Linked DNA regions of Homo sapiens: region 1 is linked to region 2. The links are contacts of gene promoters, found by promoter capture Hi-C in human tissues and cell types (Jung and others, 2019). All regions are on one chromosome and are shown on one strand. The core of a region is centred on a gene start or on the middle of the fragment in contact, and the rest is flanking DNA. Distances in the headings are between cores, read along the strand shown.

Evidence for each region. Contacts are between HindIII fragments. The study calls those that stand out against the background at their distance.
Region 1: a contact is called between a fragment that was not itself captured here and the fragment with the promoter of TMEM212 in region 2, in 1 of the 25 tissues and cell types used here (H1 embryonic stem cells).

What each region holds. Positions count from the first base shown.
Region 1 is chr3:171,060,356-171,066,534 of GRCh38, reverse strand. TNIK (TRAF2 and NCK interacting kinase) reads left to right here. Exons shown (of 33, transcript NM_015028.4): 32 at 209-348; 33 at 2,571-6,179. The coding sequence ends at 2,654. Among named protein-coding and RNA genes, the nearest start is that of SLC2A2, 37 kb to the right of the region's middle. RefSeq lists an enhancer at 4,287-4,865. The HindIII fragment of the contact is 5,608 bases long and covers 1-4,223 here.
Region 2 is chr3:171,841,683-171,848,385 of GRCh38, reverse strand. It overlaps TMEM212 (transmembrane protein 212), which reads right to left and starts at 5,037. Exons shown (of 5, transcript NM_001164436.2): 1 at 4,844-5,037. The coding sequence starts at 5,002. The HindIII fragment of the contact is 5,921 bases long and covers 1-5,228 here.

The DNA.
Region 1 (6,179 bases), core at 170-2,669, 780 kb after region 2:
CCAAATGAAACGAAAATCAAGAAATGTGAAACAACCATTTGATTCCACAAAAAAAAAAAAAAAAAAATCTGTGAATAACTCTTGTAAGACTTGCTTTGTCCATTTATCTCAAGTCGTTTGTCATTTTTGTGGTTAAGATGTGAACAGATGCTGTGAGTTATTGCCCATCTAATGTTTTTAATGCAGTTTTGGAAATTCCTTTTGACAGCCTACATTCATTCCAATCAGATAATGGGCTGGGGCGAGAAAGCTATTGAGATCCGGTCAGTGGAAACAGGACATTTGGATGGAGTATTTATGCATAAGCGAGCTCAAAGGTTAAAGTTTCTATGTGAAAGAAATGATAAGGTAAATCCGTTTCAACATTTGCATTAGTGTTTGCATTTTAAGAGACCACCAGGTACCTGTGAAACCTTCATTTTCCTTTATACTGATTTGAATCACATCTGTGTTAAACAATCAATATTATCTTGAAATGGCATTATTTGGTTTGATCCATGTGAGCACTCAATATATTATTCACATGTCAAAAACTACATAAAAACATTTAGAAATTTCTTGTAAACCTCTTAGAAACCTTTGTGGCCTAAAGGCCTTTTGATGACTCAGCAGACACCCCAAATTCTCCTAAGCACTTAGAGCAGTTGGCCCATCATTAATCATCTCACAGTGGGTCAACTTTATACTTCCACTTTTAGACTTTTCACAAAGTCACTTTCAAGACCTAACCAATCACCTTATATTCACCTTTAAATCCAAAACATTTGACGTTTAGAAATATAAGCTTTTTAAAAATGTCACCCATTCCTTAAGGAATGCACAATCACAAACTCAACTAGTGCCATGTCTTGTGTCATTCCAGCCATGTTTCTTCTGAAATGTCATAGGTGAACTGTTTTCCAGTGAAATTGGCTGTGTCCGTCTGGCATGATCAGTGACCTCAGAGGGGTATTCTGCAGCAGTACTGCTTCTCCCTTACCCTCCCTGTAGAGTAACCCCGAGGTTTTAGTAGCTAAGCCATACTGCATTTGTGAATTCATCCTTTGTGGCTGTGGCCAACATAGAAATGCTGTCCCCAAAGCCACAGACATAAACGCCTATAGAAAAACAGTATGATGGGTTGAATTTTTGTATATCCCTTTGTCCACCCCAGTTCCCCAAAGGTCAGGTTGGTCTTAGTCCAAACCTGGTGATGTGGGCCTAAACTATATTCAACCCTGGCCCACTACTCTGACCTGATGTGGTCTGGGTGGACAGTAGCTGCAGGTGGCAAAGATGGTTCCAGCCATTTAGATTTCCCAGAAAACAAACATAACCTAGTAAAACTCCAGCTCCCACCCAGTCTCTAAGAATCAAAAAACCAGGAGTGATCTGGGTATGGATACCCACATTCCGATTGAAAACCTACCCCAGCAGGGCTGTTCCAAGCCATGCCACACCCTTAGGAGTAGGCTGGGGCCACACCAGTTGTCTGCAACCCAAGGTTTACAGCCAGGGGCACACAACTTGGAGGGAAGAGCAGCCCTTTCTTTTCTTCATTGTGGTTTTCCATAGGCCCTCTCTGTCCTTCTCCGTTTTGATTCATTGACCCTAAGAGTAGCATTACTTTCATATGCAGCATTAGGTGAATGTCAAGCATTTCCAGAGACCTCCCTAAGAAGTTGTTGTTAGCATTCTTCTGAAGAAGCTGTAGAAATGAAGTAGCAGAGACTTTAGACTAGTGACAAAAGCAACTACCTAACAAAAGTTAGGTATTGACTGACTGAAGGGCTAGGCCATAGCCCAAAATATTACTTTCCTGGGGCAGTGGTTCTTTAACATTAAACATTCAGCTCAAGCAAGCAGTAACCCAAATTTTTCTCACGTTTGTCAGTTGTTTGATAAAATGACTTAACAGACTCAGACCTAATGGACTGTGGTTCTCCTCATTAATGCTATGATCTCATTTGCCCTGGGATATGCCACCATCAGCAGAGAAACCATGCGTTAACTCTTGAAATGCCAAAATGAGTAGGCATTAAATACCTTGCCCTATCTGACCACACTATTTAATGTTTTTATCTTAAATTTAAAAAACTGAAATCTGAAACTGTATGATAGTCAGTAGGCCTAAAACTCCCCCTTGACTTTGAGAATTTGAAGGGATTCCCTTCCATCCTGAAGTCTACTTTCTTGTCATTTAAGGGTGAGAGAAGGGAAGCTTCTGTGCCTTTCTAGAAATTAACAAAGAACCTGTTGGGTCCTAGACCAGAAATCCAGCACGTTATCCTAGCATGAAACTCCCTTTTAAAAAGTGAACACCCAAAGAGATGTTACAAATGAAGATATAGCCCCTTCAGCATCTCTGGAGACCAATACCACAATAAGGAATAATAACAACCTAGGAATAAAGGCAGGAGTTTTTACATAGGATGCACGATATCCAAAGGGACTTTATAAACACAAGCCATTGAGTCTTAAGACCTGACACATGGCAAGGATAGGACATGTGAGAGAAAATGGATGGACGGTTGAAGAAAAGAGGGGAAAAGACCATGCAGTTGAACTAACTTCTTTTTAATTTCAAACAGGTATTTTTTGCATCCGTGCGATCTGGAGGAAGTAGCCAAGTGTTTTTCATGACCCTCAACAGAAATTCCATGATGAACTGGTAACAGAAGAGCACTTGGCACTTATCTTCATGGCGTTATTTCTAATTTAAAAGAACATAACTCATGTGGACTTATGCCAGTCTAGAGGCAGAATCAGAAGGCTTGGTTGAACATATCGCTTTCCCTTTTTCCTCTCCCTCCGCCCCTCCCAGTACAGTCCATCTTTCAATGTTGCAGCCTGGTTGAGAAGGAGAGAAAAAGGTGGCAGGAATTTCCAGGAGATCCCCAAGAATGCTGCCTTGTCTGTGGACAAAGATGGACCATGTGCCCTTCGGAATTAGGGATAGAAACAAATATTGTGTGCTCTTAACGATTAAGCTGTGTTATGGTGGGTTTTCAGGTTTTTACCTTTTTTCTTTACCCCTTTACTCTGCAAGAATGGGGAAAGAATGCATACTGCGAAAATGAGTCTTTTAAATTCTGTCTGCCTACTAGTTTTAAGTATATGGTATGTTGTAAAATTTCCAATGATGAGAGACAGCACAATAAATGTACCTTATCTCCTTAGGCTGAAGGCCATAACTACATAGTGGAGTAATTTAAGAACTCTCTTGCCTTCACCAACCCAAAAGGTTGCTTTTTGATAGCAACTGGCTAATGAATTTTTAAAAAGAGAAGAAAAATACTAGTTTTCCCCTCTTTTGGGAAATAGATTTTAAATGGCTAAACTACTAGCCTTAAAACTACTAGTCTAATAAAATCAACTACCACTTTTGTGAATCTGACAGGCCACATTTTTATATGGCCCTTTACAGAATGGAGTGTGTTGAACAGGATACTAACGCCATTGAGTTGAGCTGGCCTAGCGATGGAGGGACACTCTAACACAACTTTCCCTCAGCTATTATGCAACAGATCAGGGAAAAAGATGGGATGACAGATGGGGTCAGACAGAAAGAGCTTCTGGGAAACAAGCTTACATAGTCTTTTTTAAAATGCACAAAGCCTCCCAGCTAAGAGGTCACTTGGTTTGGGCTTCATTAGGACTGAGACTTTGTTGAGTTCTTTCTGGGACTTGGAGAGTGGATGATATTCAGGCTCTGAACATTCCCAGCGCTCTCCCGAGGGTGCCACTTTCTCAAGATGAAAACTGTGACTGAAAAAATTAATAATAAATGTTTCTGAGCTGCCTGTGTTCTCCCTGTGTGGGTGAGAGAAGGGACTAGACTCCTAAGCCTGCCTCAGATACAAGAGGCATCATTGGCTCCAATTTTAGAGAACTTGAAAGCAAGGCTTTGGACAAAATTTTGAGACCCTAATCACTTTACCTTCCTCCAAATTACCCAACATACGGTAAACAACATTTGTGCAGAAGTATGTATGTATTTAGTTCAGGTTGACTTGTGTCCTTATAAACTCTTACTCAAATGATTTGAACTTTTATGCGACTGGGATTTTTTTTTTCCAAAGCTACAAGCATGGCCGCCTGTGGTATCGAGGTGTTGCAAACAATATCTGTGTTGCGCTTCCTGTTTTAACCTACCTCGTTTTGTTTGTTTTTGTTTCACTGTTCATCACAGCAGTGTTATCTCCAGGAGACATATAGAGAGCTCAACCGGCAATCTCAGGTGCATTTAACATTTTTAAAACGAAACAGTAGTTGACCAAATTTTTCTTCTTAAAAAATTGGAAGTGGGGGGAATCCAATGACAAAAACTAATGTGGCTTGTTTCTGGAGAAAATAATTACTGTAAATGGAACAACAACAACAAAAAAAACTACGATCTTACTGACTTTGCCTAAATACACAAGCAGCTGATGTACTATTAATGAGAACGAAATACACATTAGGAAAATGGAGCCATTTCAATCTAGTGGTTTGGGCAAGATGGGGAAGAGAAGGGGAAACATTCTAGTTTCTGGATTACATTATTATGCCCCTCCTGAAAAGGTGGTTGTCATTTGCATTTATTTAAAGCAGGTAATATGCAGGAATGTAACTGAGGATTATCTTCAGGCAATCAGCAAGATATCCTCCTCATGGTCCCTTTAGCTCTCAAAAGCAATGAAATCCTCCTGTTCTCATTTTTACTGCTGTGGTTGTGCTGCTGAACAATACTATCTTCTCAAATTCCATGCCACAAATTCAGCAATAACTTTTTGGATTGAATTTAACAACTACTGTAATTGGATGCTGATGTGGACAAAATATATTGATTTCGATTTCACTCCCGAATGTGATTGCCACCAGCTCTTTATATTGCTGCTGTGGTATTTTAAACCAGAAGCTTCTTTAAATTATGTTGCAAACTGATCTTTGTTTTTATGTTTTGTTTTGTTTTTATTTCTAAGTGATAAGTTTGAAACACACAGCTTTAAATGATTTTTTTATTGTGGGATTTTGGGTACAGTTAAGAAATAAAAGGGAATCATTGTGTTTAAACATAAGGTAGTTTGTGAATGTATTTTTTAAAATCTAGAGTCATTGAAACAAATCATAAGAAAACAATATTAATGCAGTCTTGTTTACAGTATGTACAGTGACATAACATAGAACATGAGCTTTTCTGGTGCCAACAACAATAAAACACACGTTAAACATCAAGCCATGCCTTTTATATTTTTGTACTAATATTTTACACTGAGTACAAGGCAAATCCAAATTTAAATGGGCCCCCCAGAAATCTGTGCTCTTTAAAAGACAGATATTTAAAGAATTCACTGAAGCTTTTATCTTCAAAAATAAATTTTCCTCCAGCAAGACAGACCCCAGCCCTGACATAAGGAGGCCTAGAACATGCAGAATACGTCAGAATGGTGTCCTTGTGGCTCATCCAAACTTTCTGAATTGCCTTAATTCTTTTTGGGGGTAGGGGAGGAACGGTTGCTTTTCATCCATTTTTATAGCATCTCAACAAAAAAAATCTTCAGTTCTGATCTTTTTATAGGTGATTTTGTCTCTAGAAATTGGCTCATTTTATTTTTATTTTCCTACAAAGAGAAACTGGAGAAACTGAGCCCTCCCCTCAGAGTAAGTTTCACTAGATCTGCCAGTTCTTACTGCTCTAAATTAATAATCATCCAGTAAAATCTACTGAGCCTGCCCACACCATAGTCTGGGTCTGGGGTCTGGCAGGTGACCATCATTCCTGGGTGCCAGTCAAAGATACTGTAGCATGGATTCCTGCATCCAGTGGTGGTAGGAATGGATGACCAGTGAAGTTCCTTCAAATAATGAGGCTCTTCCCCCTGCCAGTTCCAGCCAGACCACTGTCATAACACACAATGCAAATGAAGACAGCCTTCACTAAGTTCCACATAAAATTGAACAGCTCTATTTTAGATAGATCTCATTATTTTTCTTGGAGACTTCTAAACAATCCTTCAAGAAGACCTAGAACTATTATTTTTATTAAACAGGGTATATTAAGTTATGGGTGAAATCTCACAAGGTCACCTGGACAGGGGCTCCATTTTTCTAACACTTTGACATTGTTTTCTAGGGTGCACTCCTAATATACTTTGCATCAAGTACATGTTTTTTAAAAACACCTTAGTTCCTGGTTGTCAAAACCTACTAACAATTTT
Region 2 (6,703 bases), core at 3,788-6,287:
TTGTAGGAAAAATTAAAGTTACATGGCAACTGATTAGAGTAGGGTTGGTGTTAGGCTGTAGGGCATTGCTGCCTGCAGTGTGGTCCTAGGACCAGCAGCATGGGCATCCTCTGGGAACTCATTAGACATGCAGACTCTCAGGCCCCACCCCAGACCTGCTGAATTAGAACCTGCATCTCATCAAGATCTGCTAATGATTTGTATGCACGTTACAGTTTGAGAAGGGATAGTTTAGAGGAACAGGTTGAGTCAAAATCACTCCAGTATTTGGAATTGAGTTACCAAGACAATGACAGGGAAGTTGGAGAAGAAAAAAAATGGTTTTGGTGACAAGATGATTAATTTGGTTTTAGACAAGTTGGCCTTAAAGCAGCTTAGGATATCTAAGTGGAAAAATGGACCATTGACATAGATTATTTGCTTGATCAAACTTTAGTCAGGTTCCTGAACCTTCTCCTAGGCCCATCTGTGTACTTTCTTGTAAAATCCAGTTTGAGCACAAGAACCCTGCTGCTGATGAGTCAGTTTAGCAAGAACCCCCCCTAGTCTCAATATCTGATCACCCTCTATAACTAGTCAGATTTCTCCTCCTCCCCCATCCCCACCGTGATGTCTGATCACCCTGGCCTGTCTTCAGCAAGAAAACTGGTAGGTCTGTATAGCCAGAATCCCCCTTGCCCCTGATATTTCCTGTTAGTAATTTTCCATCCACCGACTTTTACCCTTATAGCTGCTTCTCAGCTATAAATTCCCATTTGCTCATGCTGTGCTTGGACTAGAACCTTGTTCTATATTGATGTCTCTTTTTCCCTATTGCAATAATCCTGAATAAAATTTGCTTTTATTGCTTTAACTAACTGTTCAGCTCTGGTTTTTCTTTGACACCATCAGGCAGTTGGAAGACATGCAACTGTGGAAGCTGTAACAGACGTGCATGGTCATGTAATCAAGCCCCTTCTCTAACCGTCGAGGAAGGGGCAGAACTTCCGTTGAGGAAGACTGCAAAACTAAATCTAGCGTGACCTTTCTCCCAAATTCCCTTCTCTAAGCAGGGCTCTGGGTACAGCGCTGCACTTGCCATTGGCCAAGTCACTGGGCTGTCCAGCCCTCAGGGCCTGTGTTTAAACTCATTGCACTCCAGTCTTTTCATCAGAACTTGATCTACAAGCCATGTTTTCTAGAATTAATAGAACTCATTCCTTATGGTATTATGATCTCCTCACTGAATACTTGCTAGCAGCTGATGCTTTTAAATAACCTAGCTCCAAAATTCTAGGAAAATTGCTTGTCATATAAATGTCAAAATGGAACTAGGGAGTCTGAGGACCAATCTATATGAAGTACTTAGAGAGTCTTGAATGAAAGACTTTGAACAAATTCAAAGTACTGTATCATATACAAAAATCTCTTTCTTACAAGTCCCCAAGGAAATATGGAGTCATCTGTAAAAGGAAATGTTAATATGGTTGAAATGTACAAATCTTGTCACTGGAGGAAGACATACTTTGGAGGCAAGTTAAGAAGTGATTGGTAAGGGAGGTTGTGGAATGAGTCAGAGACTGTTTGAAGTTCACCCTGATCAGACAGAACTGTGGTTCAGTAGGAAACTCACTAGTAAAAAAACATAACGTTCGTCCAAATTTAGACATTATTGAAAGACTGAGCATTTGTATTACTTTCCTTCTCATGAGGATTTTTTCCTGCACTAGTATAATATAAATACCACCCTGACCTTTAGTCTTTGCAACCTAATTGGTATTCAACTGTATAAGAAATTCTGTACCAACAGAACGGAGGGTATGAGATTCATTCACTCATTCAACAATACTTATTGAACAATATTTATTGAACACAGAGTTTGTAATTCCCTTTGTTCCAAGTTCTTCAGATACAGCAGTAAACATAATAGAAAAAACAATCCCTGCCCTTCTACAATATACATTTGTTAGAGGAGAGGGGAATATACAAACAATAAATTGAAAAATTATATAGTGTCTTATATGCTAATAAGTGTTATGAGGAAAAAATAGAGCAGGGTATCAGAGATTGGGAACACCAGTTGGGGTCAGGGGATTACAATTTTAAATAGTGTAATGGGAGCAAACCTCCATAAAAAAGTGTTGTTTGATAAAGAATTAATCAAGAATTGAAGGAGACTAGGGAGTGAGCCAAGTTCAGGAAGAGGCTTTAGGCAGAGGGCAGGTAGTGCAAAGGCCCTGAGGCAGAAACACATCATGGCATGTTTGAAAACTGCAAGGAGCCAATGTGATGGGAGAGAAGTGACCTAAGGGAAGAGTGGTAGGAGATGAAGTCCAGGAAGTAACAGGATGGAGAACTCAGCAGGTTACGAGGGAGTAGGATAGGAAAGTGAGGTGGGTGACACAGGATTAAGAACAAAGGGCTTGAACAGAGAGTAGGGCACAAATGAAAGGCATAGTATTAACTAGCATTTGAAGAGGGCTTTAAAATTGGCAAAGCTCTTTATTATACAATCTTTGTTTAAATTGTGTTCCTTCTCACTGTGCATCTTAGGGTTGGACAGTTTTACACGTGGGCTCTTTTTATCTGTAAAATTCCCCATTTTACAGATAAAGGGAATGAGGAACTGGCTGGCTGAGGGTCCTGCTTTTGACCTCCTACCAAGAACATCAAAGTCAGGACTTGAAAACAGGTCCACTTCTCTAAATCCTTTATCTCTGACTCCATTTCCTGATGCTGCCACCTCTGAAATCAAACAGTTACCAATTAACTATGTGCTGGAGACACATCATATCATTTCTCCGGGCCTAACTGGTAAAAATAGATGTTTGGCCTAGAACAATACATTCAATCATCTGTAATCTTAATCAAAATCACCAATATTTGTTTAATGTATTATGTTGCAGTCTGAAAGGATAGGCAAACAGCTGTAACAAAAGAATGTAGGGTTGAACTCTAATCATGATATTGTTAAACTTTGTGAAATCAGAATTTTTAAAAAAATTAAATGAAATAGAAAATATCAGAATATGTTTCACATAGAGGGTAAGTACTATTTTGAGCAACTTTTGTTTTATAGATATATAAACATCTACTATACATGTATATACATAATAGATGTAGATATCTATTTATCTAGAGAGAAGAATGTAGATGTATTTATGTACATTCTGGGTCCTCACCTAAAATATTTTTCTGACTCTGAGTCACCAAAAAAAAGTTTGGAAGCCACTTGAATAAGTGTAACTGCCATCTCTGCATTCCAGTAGAACTTAAACAAATATTTCTTTGAATGAATTGTGGTTTCAGGTAGGTGTTGGAGAAAAGAAGGGAAGATCAAGATTGGGGTGATAGATGCAAAAGAATGTATTGAAAAAGAAAAAAAAACTGAGAAAGAGAAAGATAACCCTGTGGTTTCCTCATTCCATCGACTCTCCCATAATCCCACTGGCTTCCGTCTATCTGCACACATTCATCAAACCCCACTAGACCAAGTTCCTTTAAGATGAAGACCTTGTTGGATCCTTCATTGTAACTCAACGACATAGGGGGCTATTCATAAATATTTATCTAATAAGTAGATTAAAATTTATATTTCCTGAGGTCTAGTTTTTAGGTGGTATCTCAGTTAAAGTTTTAACTTTTTAAAGATTTAAGATACTATCTCACACAACAGTGGCTACATTTTGTTTGTTTGTTTTGAGATGGAGTCTTGCTCTGTCACCCAGGCTGGAGTGCAGTGGTATGATCTCGGCTCACTGCAAACTCTGCCTCCCAGGTTCATGTGATTCTCCTGCCTCAGTCTCCTGAGTAGCTGGGATTACAGGTGCATGCCACCACGCCTAGCTAATTTTTGTATTTTTAGTAGTGACGGGGTTTCGCCATGTTGGTCAGGCTGGTCTCGAACTCCTGACCTCGTGATCCGCTCCCCTTGGCTTCCCAAAGTGCTGGGATTACAAGCGTGAGCCACCATGCCCGGCCAAGTGGCTACATTTTAATAGAAGATTCCTTAAGATCAAAAAGCTTCAATATTGAATTCTCCAGTCTCCAGTAGTGTCAGGCGTCACAGGAATCAATGAGAGAAGGATTTGTTGGACAGGTGGGTCTCTGTAACTTCTCTTAAATCATACCAGCATGGAAGCCAGTTACTCCCAAGACTAGATGTGCCCATTTTTTTTTGGTTGGAGAGCTAAGGGACCAGGCCAATCGTTTATCTGTGCAATGATTCAATGAGCGCACACGGAGTACTACTTAGTGTCGTACGCTGTACTTGGCACATGTACTTTCCTAGTGAATTGTGAAGTCCATCTTGAATTATTGAATTATTTGAATTATTTTCAAATAATTGAAAATTATTGAGTTATTTTCAGTTCAAACAGTTGCTTGCAAGAGAAAGGTGGAAAAACAAATATTTGGGGTTTGTAAATTTTGGGGCCATGTACATCTTAGTGTTTGCAATGAAAGCATTAGTTTGAAAATTATTTTACTTTGTTCTGTATTTTAAAATTACTTTTCAAGGTTTATGTTTTTTTCTAAATTCAAAATTCACATTTCAAAAGATTCTAATTTCTTAGCATATCAAGTTAAGTGGATTAAAATAAAATAACTTTTTAAGAATTTCTTGAGCAGCATGTCATTAAAAATACATAATATACATGTATACATGATAAAACAATATTAAGATCATTTTTATACTTAAAATGCAATTAATAGAAATCAATGTTCCAAGGCGGATTCTGATTTTTTGTGGAATTTTGACTTCTTTGTATTGTTAGAACAATTTAAAAGGATATGTTCTTCTGTTTTCCCTTTCCCTCCCACCTTCTTTTATTTTCTCAATATATTTAATAAACTATTTTCATACCAAAGCTCCATTCCAGATAGGACAAGCAATTCGAACACTCCATCCTGTGAACCAAGGCTTGTAAGAAAAGACAGGAAAGAAAGCAATAACTCCAGAGCATACACTGAGGATCCCCAGAGTAACAAGAATCCGGCCAGCAGCCTGGTAGAGGCCCTTCATTTTCCTTGGTGGCTTGAGGCCTTGGTCTCAAAGATGTTTTGTTACCAAAACATGAGCGTATGACAGGCCTCAGTAAATAGAAGTTTCTTAGAGACAGTAGCCACGACACATACGAACTGTTGATCTACTTGGAAACAAGATTCTATTTGTTTTACCAAAGATGAAATGTACTCAAATAGTCCTTGGCATAAATTTGACACAATAAATTCTAATAACAATTTATTTAAGAGAAAGAGAGAAAAAAATTATCCCTTGCTTTGGATTGCTGCCTTGATTCCCTTCATTCTGCCCTGTCCTGGGGAGTGACCACTTCCTGGCTTAATCAGATTCAAAGGCTTGCTGACTGAGCTAATTGTTTCTCAACTCAACCTGCCTAGTGGTTCCAGCATAAAGCCAACATCCTTTGTGTACAATAGATCCACATTCCCAGCACAATTTCCCACAAAACAAAGTAAAAATAAGCACCCTGGTCACTTTTCATTATATTTAATTTAAATGATTTCAACCCAAAGCAAGACCTTCACCTCCTTTCAAAGTTTAATTCCACTACAATTATTTTTGATAAAGATTTTTGATATGGATTCATTCCCAAATGGGCATGAACTTTATTATGGAGTTTTGCATTGTTTTCACTAAACCAGTTTCACCTTATTTTACTATTAATTTAATTTTCAATTAAAGTGTGATGATGGAAATGTATGCAGTTATAAAATAAAATAAACTTTGAGGAGCAATTCATCAGTTGAATAAAATGCTGATCCCCATTCATTCTTGAATCATAATTCTAATTTGAGATATTGAACTTAGGTACATTTAGGCAGTTACAAGTCATCTCTTACTTTTTCATGCATTTGAGAAAATGGTGTTATTTGATTTTGACTGATTGGATATATGTGGATGTCTGTTCAAAAAAATATCTTAAAAACACAGGTCAGTTTCTGAAGCCATCTGAATAATTTTCCTATTTAACATTAATACATTATTCCTTTTTACTGAAATAAAAGGATGAAAAATAATTTTATGAATGCAAATGAAGTGGTTTAGGACATCGATTTTGAGTCAGATGGAGCTGTGATCCGATTCTGGTTCCACTCTCTACCAGGTTTGTGTCCTTGAGTAAGGGCAAGTTACTTAACTTCTCTAGGTCTATTTATTCGTATGCGAAATGGGAATAAAAGTTAGTGTTTATCTTTAATGGATTTGGTTGAGAGGATTAAATGAGCTAAAACCATAAATGCCTAGCCCAGAGTTTAGCATAACGAAGATGTTCAGAAAGTTACTCTTGTTAAATTGGGATGTTCCACCTTTGGGGTCCTTCCATCGTGGGACAAAGGTGCACTTATTGTGGTTTTTTTTTAAATTCATCACCTTAAAAACATCATGTTTAACTCTTCCTGAACAATTTGGTAAAAACTCCCAAAGGACCCTCCCATATGTGGTGGAAAGAGAAGCTTCTCTCTGATTCTCTGCTTTTTTTCTTTCTGCCTTTCTGTCTTTAATAGCCATTCCACAGTTTGACCCAGATTTTGAAGCAGTTGCATTCCTGGATATACAGAATCCAGGAAACCAACTCATGCTTTCTGGTACAGCTGCTATTTCTTATCTCCTCTCAACACTGTGGGCTATATTCTCTGATTTTTTTTTTCTAACACCACTAGATAAATTTCACAAGGGCAGAGACCTTGCAAGTCTTATACATCC